Linked DNA regions of Homo sapiens: all the other regions are linked to region 1. The links are contacts of gene promoters, found by promoter capture Hi-C in blood cells and fetal thymus (Javierre and others, 2016). All regions are on one chromosome and are shown on one strand. The core of a region is centred on a gene start or on the middle of the fragment in contact, and the rest is flanking DNA. Distances in the headings are between cores, read along the strand shown.

What was found. The method cuts DNA at HindIII sites, captures the fragments that hold promoters and counts their contacts. A CHiCAGO score of 5 or more calls a contact.
Region 2: a fragment that was not itself captured here is called in contact with the fragment with the promoter of GRM5-AS1 in region 1 in 3 of 17 cell types (neutrophils, activated CD4 T cells and M2 macrophages); the score reaches 7.0 in neutrophils.
Region 3: a fragment that was not itself captured here is called in contact with the fragment with the promoter of GRM5-AS1 in region 1 in 1 of 17 cell types (neutrophils); the score reaches 6.0 in neutrophils.

Annotation. Positions count from the first base shown.
Region 1 is chr11:88,501,655-88,506,462 of GRCh38, reverse strand. GRM5-AS1 (GRM5 antisense RNA 1) reads right to left here and starts at 1,887. Exons shown (of 6, transcript NR_049724.1): 1 at 1-1,887. It overlaps GRM5 (glutamate metabotropic receptor 5), which reads left to right. Exons shown (of 10, transcript NM_001143831.3): 10 at 1-1,821. The HindIII fragment of the contact is 8,959 bases long and covers 1-3,040 here.
Region 2 is chr11:88,246,456-88,251,263 of GRCh38, reverse strand. No RefSeq gene overlaps it. Among named protein-coding and RNA genes, the nearest start is that of MIR3166, 72 kb to the right of the region's middle. RefSeq lists an enhancer at 3,777-4,808. The HindIII fragment of the contact is 2,522 bases long and covers 1,329-3,850 here.
Region 3 is chr11:88,277,476-88,282,283 of GRCh38, reverse strand. No RefSeq gene overlaps it. Among named protein-coding and RNA genes, the nearest start is that of CTSC, 58 kb to the left of the region's middle. The HindIII fragment of the contact is 10,000 bases long and covers 1-4,808 here.

The sequences.
Region 1 (4,808 bases), core at 638-3,137:
TAATACCCTTTGGATCCTCATCAAAAGGATGGCATTCACCTGAGGATTCCTATCTTGACTTCTTAGGTATTAAAAACCTTTCTTGATATGCTCTACATTTTAAAATTTGTTTTATAAAATCCTTATGTTGATTTTCATTTTATTCTCAAGTACAATACGTTTCACTCTAGACCAGTTGAAGAACATGTTTAAACTTTGTTCATGGTCAAATTCATTTTCTATTTTTTTAGTAACATATCTCTTAAAAAGCACACTACCTTATAAAAAACTTCATCAGAAATTAAATTTAATGCAAGTAAATTGCCATCTGATACTTCCACATGCTATCATAATCAACTGTAATAATAAAAATGATTTATCCAATTAGAAAAGGACAAGATATATTTTTCTCTGTATTTCTATAACTTTTGCCACTCCATTGAATACATTGTATGTTGGACATAAGATTATTAGTAATGCATTCTTGAGATCTTTTATTTTGGAATGATGCTAACTCTGTCTCTTTGCCAATTCTAATACCAGGTTCCAAGTAATAACTCTACAGTACAAAGAGAACTGAATATTCATTCTAGGGCTATAGGATATGAACTTCACAATTCATTTGGGTACATTCTCATTGAATTTCCTTCAAAACAATCTGTTCCTGGTGCCCAGTGATAATTCAGTCGGGACCAGCATGACTAAAAGGAAGGGGATATGCTAAGGCTCAGCAAAGTGACCCTAAATGAGAGATATGTCCCAGGATGGAAAGAAGAAGACGTGGTTTAACCAAGTTATACTGACTAATCTAAGCAGTCCACTCATCCTTCCATTTTGGGAAAGGAGTGGGGGCAGCCTAAGAAGAACATATCTGGATTGGGAAGAACCGTCTTTCTGGGCTAGGGATGGGGAACAGAAAGGGAGTATGGAAAGAAAAATTATAAGAGATTTGACTGAAGCAAGGAAAAAAAGCAAATCCCCAAACGTGCTAATCCTTGAAAGTAACTATCTTTCCCAAACTACTGCTGTTACCAGCAAGTGATCAGGAAGACTAGGAGCTATTTCTGACTGTAAATGAATTGTATAATAGCTCTGCTGCAGTTCTGTGACTTCCAAGCCAGGAATTAAATGCTCTTTTTAAGAATAACAAAAAACAAAAGCATTTCCTATGCTAGTCTCCCAGTAAAATGTACATGTTTTGGAGACTTCAAAGGTATTATGTGAGTTCACATTTAGCAACAGCTTATTAATAACCCTCAAGCTGTCAGAATCTCTATAGTTACCATTTACAATTTTATACTGTGAAAAAATACAGATCAGTGAAAGCATAAAGACAAGTCAGAATTCACTTTGAAGAGGGTCTGAGGCCTGGGAGAGTCTCTACTGTCTATTGAAGAATGAGGCATGTATAAAATAGTTGGTTGAATTTCACTGATCTTCCCAATGTGAACAAATATACTATGTATATTGTGTGTATTTCTAGAAATCAATGGCAGCTGCTGATGGTGTTGTAATTAGAAATCTATATAGATTATAGATGTTTTAGAAAGATGGTGCCAATCCTAAAAGATTTGTGTGGGCTAAAAGTGCTTGTACTTACTTTTTTCTGCACTTATAACTGATTTGGTTTTAAAATTGTGTGCGTGTATCTGTTCTTTCTCTGTTGTGGCAGCTTGTACTATTAAAATAATAGAGAATGTTAAATTATTTTGATGTGAACTGCAAATGATTTTTTTTCATAAAGTTTAACATTTTTATCAGCATTGTTTTGCTTTGTACTTGTATAAATATGTTTTATTTTAGCACTTCAAAATATACTTGCCTGTTTCTCAGTTGTCTAAATCATGTTGTACTTGGTGTTTGTGAAGCCAGTTACTTTTCAAAAAAATTAAAAAACCTATAATATGATTTTAAGATTATTCCCCTCAAATGTTTAGAATGTTGTCTTAATAGTGTTTTCTGAGATGAAAAGAGCCATGATACTAATTAATCTTGAATACTGGATGATCTATACATTTGAATTATGGGGTTTACAAAGTAAGCAGTGGACTGTATAGATTTAAATGAAAATATAAACCAACCACAAACCAACCAGAGATGTTGTCCCCAAACACATCTACAAACAACTGTTACATAAAGAAGTACTTAAAAAAATATATAGGAAATATGCATTGTTTATGCATCTAGACATACAAATTATAGAAATAGTTTCATAATTATATGTGTTGATAGAGGTAACATCACACAGATAAAATAGATTATTTGTGTGTGTATAGATGTGTGTTTACAAACATACATATTTATATAGACATTTGACTTTTGAGTCCATCTGCATGTGTCTCTGTGTATATGTGTGTTTGTGTGTAGATGTATGTGCATATTACATAATTTTTCCAGAAAAAAAAAAAGTTTTACTTTGACTGATTCTTGAGCAAATATACATTCCCTGGACACAAATTAGTGAAAAACTAACAGCAGAATATAAGGTAGATGCTTGATGTATGGAAGAGAAAAACAAGGTATATTTAAAAATATATTTGATTTATGCTTCTGACATTGTATTAAATGCATAATGATATATATACATATGTAGATACATATATTATACAGAATGTGTTTGATCTTAACAAAGAAAGCCATTTTATCTGTTTTGTCAGACTCTTCCCTTCAGTATCTTTTATTCTAACGTGATATGAATGGTAATATGTTCACATAAAATTGAGGATGAAGTGACATATACAAACCAGGTACAGGAAATTACCTTCTAAAAATCCAAAGAGCCTTATCAGACTCCATCAAATTATGGAAGGCCATTTAAAACCAGCGGATGCAATAGAAATAGCATTGAATTAAAAGCCAGGATCTCTTACCTGTCACCAACTGACTTTGGATAAATCACTCTGATTTCTCTACAACTTGTTCCTCTTGCTTTAAATGCAGAAGTGAGTTACAATAATCTGTGAAGTTTCTATCATTTCAACATTCCTGATAAATGCTCAATAGTAGCTATTATTAGTGTCAATGTAGTATTTAGTATACAGTTAATATTCAGCAGGAAGCTTAAATTTGTTATATCAATGTTATTTGTGGAGCTTAACAAGTTCCTGTCCAACTTAAAGCATATATCCTGGAGGAAACCTATTGAGGTTTGAACTCATATGCAACCTTGGAACTGTCTATCAAGGACAACTTAGTAAATTGATATTGAACACCACAGAGAGAATGCTTTTCCTCTGTTATAATTGCTGCTGAATGCTGGCCAAGTTTTTGGTTATGCTGTACATGAATGATCAGTTTTAGAACATAAACAATTTGCAAATATTTACTTTGTATGATAGCTAGGCAGAAAGGTAGGTAAGCACATAGATAGGCAGAATTATATTAATGAAGTTATCTCCTTAAGCAAAAGCTTGGTATTTACATTTTCTCTCACAGTATTTTAAAACTCAGAATCAGTTATTACATCTCACTCTGTTTATTACTTTTAGGTTATTATGTTAGTAAATAAGTTCTATGAAGAGAATGTTTAAACTCATCTTCTCCAGCCACTCTTAGAATCCTGAACCAAAAGTTTCCAGGAACACTTAACCTCCACTAGAATAAATGTTTTAAATTACTGTTACACCAGGACAAAGACATTTATTTTTGCCAGGACATAAGTCTCTTTGAGGTATGATCTATATACAGGATACCTATGTGATATACATATCAGACACTTTGGCTTATTTATGTATAGCTTGTATTTTTATTCATTGACATTAAAAATAAAAATTTTCATACTATCAGATTTCTATGATGAGATAGATGTTATATTTTAAATTATACAAATTCTATGTCCGTGAAAACCACATAATAAATTGTGGCTTTTCTGAACTGCTGAATAGTAATAGGTGATTCATAAAAGTTCTTAGAGTCTTAAAAGTTTGAAAAATGTAGTAATTCCAAATTAAATGGCTATCTTCACTTCGGAAGTTACCAATTTATAGTATTCTTTTTTTTTTTTTTTGAGACGGAGTCTCGCTTTGTAGCCCAGGCTGGAGTGCAGTGGCGTGCAGTGGCGCGATCTCGGCTCACTGCAAGCTCCGCCTCCCGGGTTCACACCATTCTCCCTCCTCAGCCTCCCAAGAAGCTGGGACTATAGGCGCCCACCACATCGCCGGCTAATTTTTTGTATTTTTAGTAGAGACGGGGTTTCACCATTCGCAGGATGGTCTCGATCTACTGACCTTGTGATCCGCCCGCCTCGGCCTCCCAAAGTGCTGGGATTACAGGCGTGAGCCACCGTGCCCGGCCCAATTTATAGTATTCTAATATCCATTAACTTTGCTAATGAAGCTGTCTCCTCAGAGTAGAGTTTCATGAAAAGAATTTTGGAAATGCTATGATATAAAAGTTATAATTTATACACACTTTTTCTTTTAGTTTTCAAAATTCATTGCCATTTCCATGATGATCTCCTTAGGCCTTTAGAGAAGTAAACACAGATTGATAGAGTTATAACATTGTCTTCAGGAGCCATTTTACTGAACCATTGGAAGTCTTGCTCAATTTTATTATTTGTTCTCTTCCCATTTTTTGATTTCTTAGACCTCTGTCAGCACATTTACTTTACTTTCACGGGTCAAGCTGAGGGATTTCTTTTACAATTTATGTTCTTTCATTTTTGTTCAAAACGTTTTGAACCAAATGAAATTAAGTTTCCTTAACTTCAACAGCCTCAGATGAAGCAATATGTGAGATACAGCATTAATAGATGTTGCCTAACCAGTGAAATGTATTTCAAAAGCAGTAGAAGTCTATCAGCTTATTATCCAGAAGCTATTTTTAGA
Region 2 (4,808 bases), core at 1,340-3,839, 260 kb after region 1:
GAAAAAAATATTATTTTGCCCTAAAATTTTCCTTCTGGGAGTCCAGAAGGGACTATTATCGAATGTTCTGCCTTCTAACAGCTATGTTTGCTTTCAGTGCATTTTAAGTGGAATATTTTTCACCCTTCTGAGGAGGGCAGACAAAGACTTTAATTAAACAAACATCATATGGGAACTCTTGCCCCAAAAGCCATTAGTGGCCCTAATTAGCAGATGCAGCTGTAGACTCTATCAATATTAGATGGTCTGTTTATTGTGTCCATTTATATCACCCTCATCAGGGAGCATGTGGAAGGCACCCAAGAATTATCAACTTCAATTAAAACTAGCTCAAATAGTGAAGAAAATATCCCAGGCGAAAATGGGTCATGTAGAAGAGGAAGATTTTTTTTTAAAGCATTCTGGGAATATTACCAAGCCTTCTTTGGGAAAACTAGAGGATGTTTGATGATCTTATTGTCAACAACTGCCTGAGAGAAGCACAGACAATTGAGAGATAGGCTGGATTACACAGATGAGTAGCCAAGTAAGTCAGAGCATATCCCTCCTCTTCCTGGGGTTTCCAAGTACCTACCAGGACTCCAGGAGGCTTCATGCTAAGTAGGCTTGGAGGTGGCACATTTATTTAGGCATACTCATTAAATTCATCGTTCCAGGAATTATATAAAGTTAGATCTGGAAGTTCCTGGAAGGTTATTTTATGGATCTCATATGTAATATGTTATAAAATTATCATTATTTATTCAATTTCTGCTGTGCTTTTAGGTATTATTCTTATATTCACAACCCAAATCTGGTATTTTGCATTTTTCAGATAAAGTATTTAAGGCTCGAAAGTTTTAAGTGCTTTCCAAATGTCGTAGAATTAGTACGTACTAGAACCAGAATCTGAACTTCTATCTGATTCTGAATCCCAGACAGCTTTCTATACCATAGGGCTTCTCTGTATTAGTCAAAATAATTTAATATTTTGGCAAATAGTTTGTTAACATAAATAATTGAAGACCCACAACTTGAGTTTAAGCCCTTTCCCATTTTTCTAAATTCTCCTAGTCCCAGTTTATTTATTTATAGAATCAGAATAGTGCTTCTCAAAAATTGGTTTATATGAGATAAACTATGTAAAAAGATTTTGGTTGTGGGATATGCATAATAATTCCATTTCAGATCCTATTCTCACTTACATTTTACCATGACCTTATTTTAGACAGTTTGAGTGACGAATTCTTGATATCTCTTTGGAGGCTTATTGGGCTTGGTAACATAAAGCCTCACTGAAGGATAAGACATGATGTAATTGATCTTTGTGCTCTACAGAAATATAAGCTTCCTTTATTTATTCTAATTCCCAAGGAAACAACTGCTGGAGATATGTTTCTGCAGTATGAAAATTGTGAAATTTCAAAGAGATCATGATAAGCCAGAAGTAAGAAAGCTGCAATAGTTTAGAGTATGCTTCCCAAAAGTTTCTAGAAAGTGTCCTTAAAGGCACAGCAAAATGAATTTGTGTCTCCATGTGGTTTGAATGCCCTACATCTACCATGACATTTATTGAAAGATATAATTTATCGGTCGGGCGCAGTGGCTCATGCCTATAATCCCAGCACCTTGGGAGGCTGAGGCAGGCAGATCACCTGAGGTCAGGAGTTCGAGACCAGCCTGGCCAACATGGTGAAACCCTGTCTCTACTAAAAATACAAAAATTAGCCGGGCATGGTAATCCCAGTTACTCGGGAGGCTGAGGCAGGAGAATCGCTTGAACCCAGGAGGCAGAGGTTGCAATGAGCTGAGATCACACTATTGTACTCCAGCCTGTGAGACCGAGGAAGACTCCGGCTCAAAAAAAAAAATAGTGCAGTTCTGTACTCTGCAGTATATATGCTTTTTAGATTTAAAATCACTAAATCATGTGTTGACCCCCTTCACAATCTTTCATGTCATCCAATCATGCCATGTTCCAAAAATGTGCCGTCTTTATCCTGTGGCTCCTGGTGCCTCACTGGAACATCCCTAAGAAGTCCTAGAGAGGTACAATATTCTAGTGTAAGATGTATCTGTTTAGAAAGTATTTCATCCAAGCTAAAAATAAGCCAAAAATGATTTTTGCCTCTAGTAATTATTTCTGAGGCGATTGTCATGAAAATAGTTGCTTTTTGGCACTAGATCTAACATTCTGATAGTAATCCTTGGAGGTCAATTATTCCTGGATGAGAATGACAGGCAAGAGGAAACAGTTTGGGGTCACTATTTATATACTAGAATATTAAACCTTAAGTACCTCAGTTAACTTATTGTTCAAATGGAAGCAAGATTTAATGAAAAATAATAAGACGTCATAGTCCATAGTCTTTCAGTTTTATAGCTGATTTTATCTCTAGGTTTACTTTCAAAGCAGGTGTCATGGTCCATTTCTCAGACCCCTCCATTCAGGCCTGAGACCCTCAGTCCCCTAGTTTCCCCAGCTGTAGCAAATGTTGACTGCCTCACAGCTGAATCCCTCTCCAGGAATTGGTTATGGCTGTCAGCTGAATCCCTCTCCAGGCATTTCCTTCTAAGGGCACCACCTGGTCCAAGGTTAGCCCAGGATCTTATGCCACAATCCAGACCATCCCCGAAGTGCCACCCCAGTTCCAGAGCTCCCAAGCAGATTGGTTCTGTTGTTACTGTGTTACAAGTCAGTTTTTCCTTTTATTCAGTCCTACTTCCTTCATCCCTTTTCAGGTACTGTTCCTGCAAACAAATATCTACCCTAGAGTCTATTTACTGAGAAAGCTAGTTTACGAGAGCTTCCCATACTAGCAAGCTAGCTGCCTTTAATTCTCCCTACCCAGTGGTTTCTTTAGACACCATCTTTAAATTGAAATGTGAGAATAAAATAGAAACTATGTGAATCTGAAACATCATTGGCATGTGATAGGTAAGGATAGTCAGCAAAGTGATTATTTCCAATTCCACTAGTTTTAGTGAGAGCACTTATGCTTCAGGCACTAAACTGAATTTACTCGGTCTTGCTGATTTTCACAACAAACATATGGCATAAGTATTAGTATACTTGTTTAGGAAATAAACTGAGATTTATTTACTTGCTTAAAGTCATAGGGTTAGTACATTGTGAAATTAGAATTTGAACCCACGTCCTCCTTCTCCAAGTCTAGCAGTTTCTAATCTATCTGTGAACCATTGTGCAGTTTACAGTATTTTCAACTCTCTGCCTTCTGAGCACATGGTAGAATTGTACTTCACTACCGTTGTAATGTTAAATATGGCCATACAGCTTGCTTTGGTTAATGAAATGTGAACAAAAAAGCTGGTGCCTTTTTGCTTTATTTCCCTCCCCTGCCACAGGGAGTGGTGATGTTCTAAATGATAGTGGCTCAAAACTTTGTGTCCCTGAATGGAGACAGCATGGTACAGGATTCCCAGCACAACTCAAGGTAGTCACGGAGCATCAGGGAAAAATAATCTTAGTTGTGTTAAGTGACTACTGCCCATGAATTGTTTGTTATCACAATATAGCATAAATTGATGGATACATAAATTTCAACTAAAGAACAGATTAATTTTTTAACCCAAGATGTACTCATGGAGAATTGCCATTTTTTTTTTTGCTAGAATTGTAATGTCCTTAACATCAGAATTTGTTTTATAATGTAATGTAATTGAAAGAGTTTGGATTTTGCAACTACATAGACTTAATTTAATTTGAATTTCTGATCTAACATAATTGATTAATGACCTTGGGTTTTCATTTCCCTTTCTCAGCCCTCTTTAGTCATCTATAAAATGAGGCTAATAATATTTTCATTATAGCATTGATGTGATAGTTTCATAAAATAAAGTCTGTAAAGCTTTTAGCAAATTGCCTGACACTATTAATATCTATTAATAGTAACAAATAAGTGTTTTATAGAATGCAGTCTTCTCACCTTTGCATCTGAAAGTTATTGTTAAAAATATAGATTCCCAAGGCCCATTCCAGACCTATTGAATTAGAATCTCCAGGTATGAACTACATTTTGAACAAACTCCTTCGGTAATTCTTCACTGAGATAGAAAAATTATTGCACTAAACAAATGTTAAATACTTCTATATACACATATATAAATGGTTTCGACTGCCAAAAAGCCTTCCACAAAGTTCTTGAAATGATCTTAGAACTAAATAGGAAAGTATCACCCAGTGCACTATAGATGCATCAAAGTAAACTCAGCAGAGGATTTGGGGGACTACAAGGCATACTTCAAAGGGATAGCATCTTAAAAAAAAAAAAAAACTTGGTGAATTCTTTGTCTCTAAGTATCATGAGAAACACAGTCTGATGAGGGTAATCTTAGCTGATGACGAAGGAGGGTGTGGGACTTGAAGGCTGGCTGAAGTGAATCAGATGCCTATGAAATGAGGATGACTGCCAGTGAAAATCAGCCAAGGACACTTTGATCAGCGACTCATGCAAGTGAGCAATTATAACTCCGGAAATTCTGGAAATTTTCTGGTGGAATTCTAGCCCAGAAATTTTAGTTCCATTGTTTTAGGAAAAGAGGTGGTTTTGATTCCTGCTAGAGTTTTTGGTAGCAGTGAGTGACTTTGGAACTGAATATTATTATCCAAACCCCCTTCTCTCTAGGTCACTTTTCTTTTTTCTTTTTATTATTATTATTATAGTTTAAGTTCTAGGGTACATGTGCACAACGTGCGGGTTTGTTACATAGGTATACATGTGCCATGTTGGTGTGCTGCACCCATTAACTTGTCATTTACATTAGGTATATCTCCTAATGCTATCCTTCCCCCCTCCCCCATCCCACAA
Region 3 (4,808 bases), core at 1,567-4,066, 230 kb after region 1:
CCACATTCCTGCTTAAAATGCTCACCTGGTTTCCCATAGCTCAAAAATATTTCAAGATGGATATGGATAGTGATTCTGAAAATGCACATTCAATAAATCTGTGATTTCCACAATACAGGCTACAAAAATTTAAACTCAGGAAAATCTTAGCTGGTAAGAATATGTGAAGTTGAGTGACAGTTGTGAACAATCTAGCTTTCTATTTGAATAATATGCAAAATCCCTATATAAGTTGTTTAGTGTGGAATCTCAGATATGGGGGATGTAAACTCAAAACAGTTGTATTAGTTTTCAGTAACCACTATCAATTGTTCTTTGAACATTATCTATTTGGAAGGCTGTATCCCTTGAAGATATTTCAGTTCCACTCTATAACTTTCCAGACATTTTCACATATTAGAAGTTTCATGGCAGTTCTGAGAAACTCAGACCTATTTATTGTAATATTTCAATCTCCAAGGGCTTCTGCTAGCTCACAGAGTGCCAATATGGGAATGGGAAAATGATGCCCCTTCCTCCTGGTGGAGACAGGGACCTGCACAATCAGTTCAGACCACTAATTCCTCCCCAGACCGTGTGAAATTCTAGCCGCCTGGAATTTAGAGATTGTGTGGCCTGCTTTAACAAACTTCCTCTTCGTTTTTCTAATCTGGCCATGGAATAGGTGTAAATAAGAGTGAAAATGGTATTTTCTAGTCAGTTGTAACATGACTGGTTATCAAATATTTCAAATATTGCCCCAAATACTACCCCCAGAAGGTGGTGCTGTGAGTTCTGAAATGTTTGTTTGGGAGCTGTCTCTCCAGAAGCAGACCTGGATGGACCAAGTACAAACTAGAGGTCAGTTATTTGTGTTTATTTCAATCTGTGCTGTCCATGACTTCAAAGCACAAGTCACTGGATTCTCTAAAAATACTTCCCATCCTCAAATTCTTTTTAACTGGATCAATTTTTGAGGCTTGGGAGACAGTTGAAAGTTGTTATTCTGACAGCTCCATTCAAAAATGAGATGTAAAAAATGACCTTTTTATAGGAACATACGGGAAAGAACTATAAAAACGCTTAAGATTTGGTTTGGCAGAGATATTTTTCTCATTCAAAAATGAGTAGCGTTTTTGGCACTTGCTGTGGTACTTTGTAGCTGGCAGCTGAATTATTTTGGCCTCTGCCCAAATCTCTGGACTCAAAAGCTGATCTTCAAATCTCCTGTTTAGTTAAAGAAGGATTTAAAACACTTAATGGCCATTTACATGTCAAAAATAAGACATTATATTAACCTGATATTGAGACACTGTGCCTGTCTAAATAGCGATGACAATAGATAAAATAACTACCTTTTGAATGGCAGTGCATTACTTGTATTATTCTTCAAAACAATCTGTCAATAGAACAGGTTTTAAAAGCCCATTTTACAGATAGGAAAACTGAGGTTCAGTAGACCAAGATCCTTGCTCAGGGTATTTGGAAGAATCAGTATTCGAGCCCATGGCTACAGACATTTACCTATTCTCTATTATGTCACGTTATTTTCAATGTATATTTTCTGAAATGCAATGCAGTAGGCCTTGAGTTAGTAATTCTTCCTTTAAATGTACCTGCAAATTATACAACACTCTTAGCCAATAATGACTTAGAGAATTATTTCTGCTTTCTTTAGCATTAGTACTTTTATATTCTTCTTAAAGGTAATTATTCTACCTATGACTGGGCTATTATGAAACAGGGTGGTCTTGGTAGTTTACAAATATGTCCATAAGTAGATGTATCATGGTGCCCTAAATTAGCTTTACTCATGTTCTTTTCTTTCTAGAAAATTTTTGTTAACCAGGATCCCATGCCTCTGTAAATTGACCATCCCCTAACCCATAGCTTCATATCATTTAGTGTTCTGGGACCTCCAAATGAAGTCTTTATTATTAGACAAGGAGGCATGGTCTGTCTGATATATGTTGAAAGCCAATAACATAACTCACTGTCTTTCAATTTGATAATAATTCTGTCTTAATTCAGTCTTATACATATTGCTTCCTATTATCTTCCATTCTTTTTCTTGGAGAAAGTAAAATGGAAGAGCCAAATGAAACACAGTGTTCTAAATCTACCCATATGAAGTAATCTACCACTTCAGATGTAAGTTGGTATAGAATAAAAGGAAGTCACAGTTCAATTTATGGATTCCAGGGAAATACAGTAGTATGATCCAGGAAGTATAGATATTTAAAGGAGGCATCTTCTAAGTTGATGGAACATAGCTGCTGAAGTTTCTGGGGCACAAATAGGGACAGTAACATGATTCTAAATTTTGGCTAAAGATTCCCAGTGAGTTAGTGCCTGGGTGAGGTAGGTGGGCATAGTGTATCATGATCCAGCAAAGTAATAGCTGAGCATGGTATCTAGACCCAGGAAAATGAGGCAGGGGTCGATGGGGGAACTAGAATACAAACTAGGAGGATATTCAAGGTTCTGGGAAGGAAGAAAGTCTGCAACTTTGCATCTGGGTTTATTTCCATATACAATGAATTTTAATAATAAATGCTGGTGAGGATGTAATCAGTGGGGAGAAGGAATTTGTACAGAGAAATATTATGATCAGATCTTTGCTTTTGTAATGTTGTTATCTGTTGGTAAGGAAATCATAAGAGGAAGAGCAAGATTGGCAACAGTGAGATCAGTTAGGAAGCTATTGGTATCTTCAAAGCACTGTCCAAGTCTCACCTTCATCCTCGTCAGACTTTCTCACCCAAATTTCTGTAGGATAAACTACCCTTGCCAAATCATTTAACATTTATTTTCTGTTTCTGTATCATACCTTTCTAATGACATTATAAACTATGATGAATTTAATTTTATTTTAGTTGTTTCATTGCATTAGGTTCATAATAAACACACAGAAAAATACATGAGTGCTTTTCAATGAAAAGTAGAAAGTAGGAGCAAATAAAGCATCGCATAAGTAGAGAAAGGAAGGCATAACATATTATGTACAGGGATATAGATATGTCAAAAAGGGGAAAGCTAACTGATTCCTACAGCAAAGTATTAGATGGGTGACTTTTTTTTTTAATGTGTATATATATTTTTTTTTTTACTATTTTTTTTCTAACTTTTAAGTGCAGGGGTACATGTGCAGGTTTGTTACGTGGGTAAACTTGTATCATGGGGTTTGTTGTACAGATTATTTCATCACCCAGGTATTAAGCCTAGTACCTATTAGTTATTTTTTCCCGATCCTCTTCCCTCCGCCTTCCATTAGACCCCAGAAAGTGTTGTTCCCCTCTATGTGTCCATGTGTTCTCATCATTTATCTTCCACTTATAAGCAAGACCATGCAATATTTGGTTTTCTGTTCCTGCATTGGTTTGCTAAGGATAATGGCCTCCAGCTTCATCCATCCCCCTCAAAGGACATGATCTCATTCTTTTTTATAGCTGCATAGTATTCCATGGTGCATATGGACCACATTTACTTTATCTATTTTATCACTGATGGGAATTGAGGTTGATTCCATGTCTTTGATGTTGTGAATAGTGCTGCAGTGAACATATGTATGCATGTGTCTTTATAATAGAACAATTTGTATTCCTTTGGGTATATACCCATTAATGAGATTATTTATATAAATTTAAAGGGTACAACTGCAATTTCGTTACATGGATATATTGCACAGTGGTGAAGTCTGGGATTTTACTGTATCCGTGACCCAAATTATGTACATTGTACCCATTACCCATTAAGTAAATTCTCTCTCTTTCTCTCTCTCTCTCTCTTTCTCTCTGTCTTTCTCTGAGCCAGGGTCTCAGTGTCACACAGGCTAGAATGCAATGGCATGAACATCTCTGCAGCCTCGAGCTCCTGGGCTCAAATGATCCTCCCATCTCAGCCTCCTGAGTAGATGGGACTACAGGCCCATGCTATCACACCTGGCTAATTTTTGTATTTTTTGTTGAGGCAATGTCTCACTATGTTGCCCAGGCTGGTTTTGAACTCCTGGCCTTAAGCAATCCTCCACCTTGGCCTCCCAAAGTGCTGGGACTACAGGGGTGGGCTGCCGTACCCAGCCTGGATTTGTTTTCCTTTGGGTAGATAGCTAGTAGTGGAATTGCTGGATTAAATGATACTTCTATTAGAAAATAACAGGCTCGCTCTTATTGTTTCGAATGTATTACTTATAGATGCAGGCTCTGAGGCTTTGAAGAAATCCAGAACATAAAATTAAATTACTAAATAATACAAGGAATCAAAGAGAACATGAGTTATTTAAAAGTGTTCAAAAGAATATCCATGTTGTCAGGAGCTGAATTTATTTAAACACAATATATCAGAATAAAATTTTTTGGTCACTAAAGAATGCATGAATATGTATGTGTATATATATATATTTGTGTCTACATATTTATGTGTATATGTACATGTGTATGTATATATGTGTGTGTGTTTAGAAGAGTGAGAGAGAGAGAGAAGAGAAATTGAGAAGTGAAGGCCAATCGCCACAAAAAAATTTAAGTTTTTGTCATCAACTTGCAAATGGAAACTGGCACTGTGCTGGAATAAAGATGAGACTTTTTTTTTCTTTGTTTTTGATTAGGCTTTCTTCCAGTTGCAATTGTTAGAATGTAGAATTTGCAGCACATGGTTACTTTTTTTGAATGCCCGTGCTTTGGAGATATTTAAACTCAGACCTCATGTATCACTTGCAATCTGATCGTGCAAATACTGAATACCTGACTGATCTCTTTATGAGCCCAAGGCTGTTTTATCCCAAGGCTTGGCATGCTGTCAGTAACTGAAAAGTCCTTAGTCCTGCCATT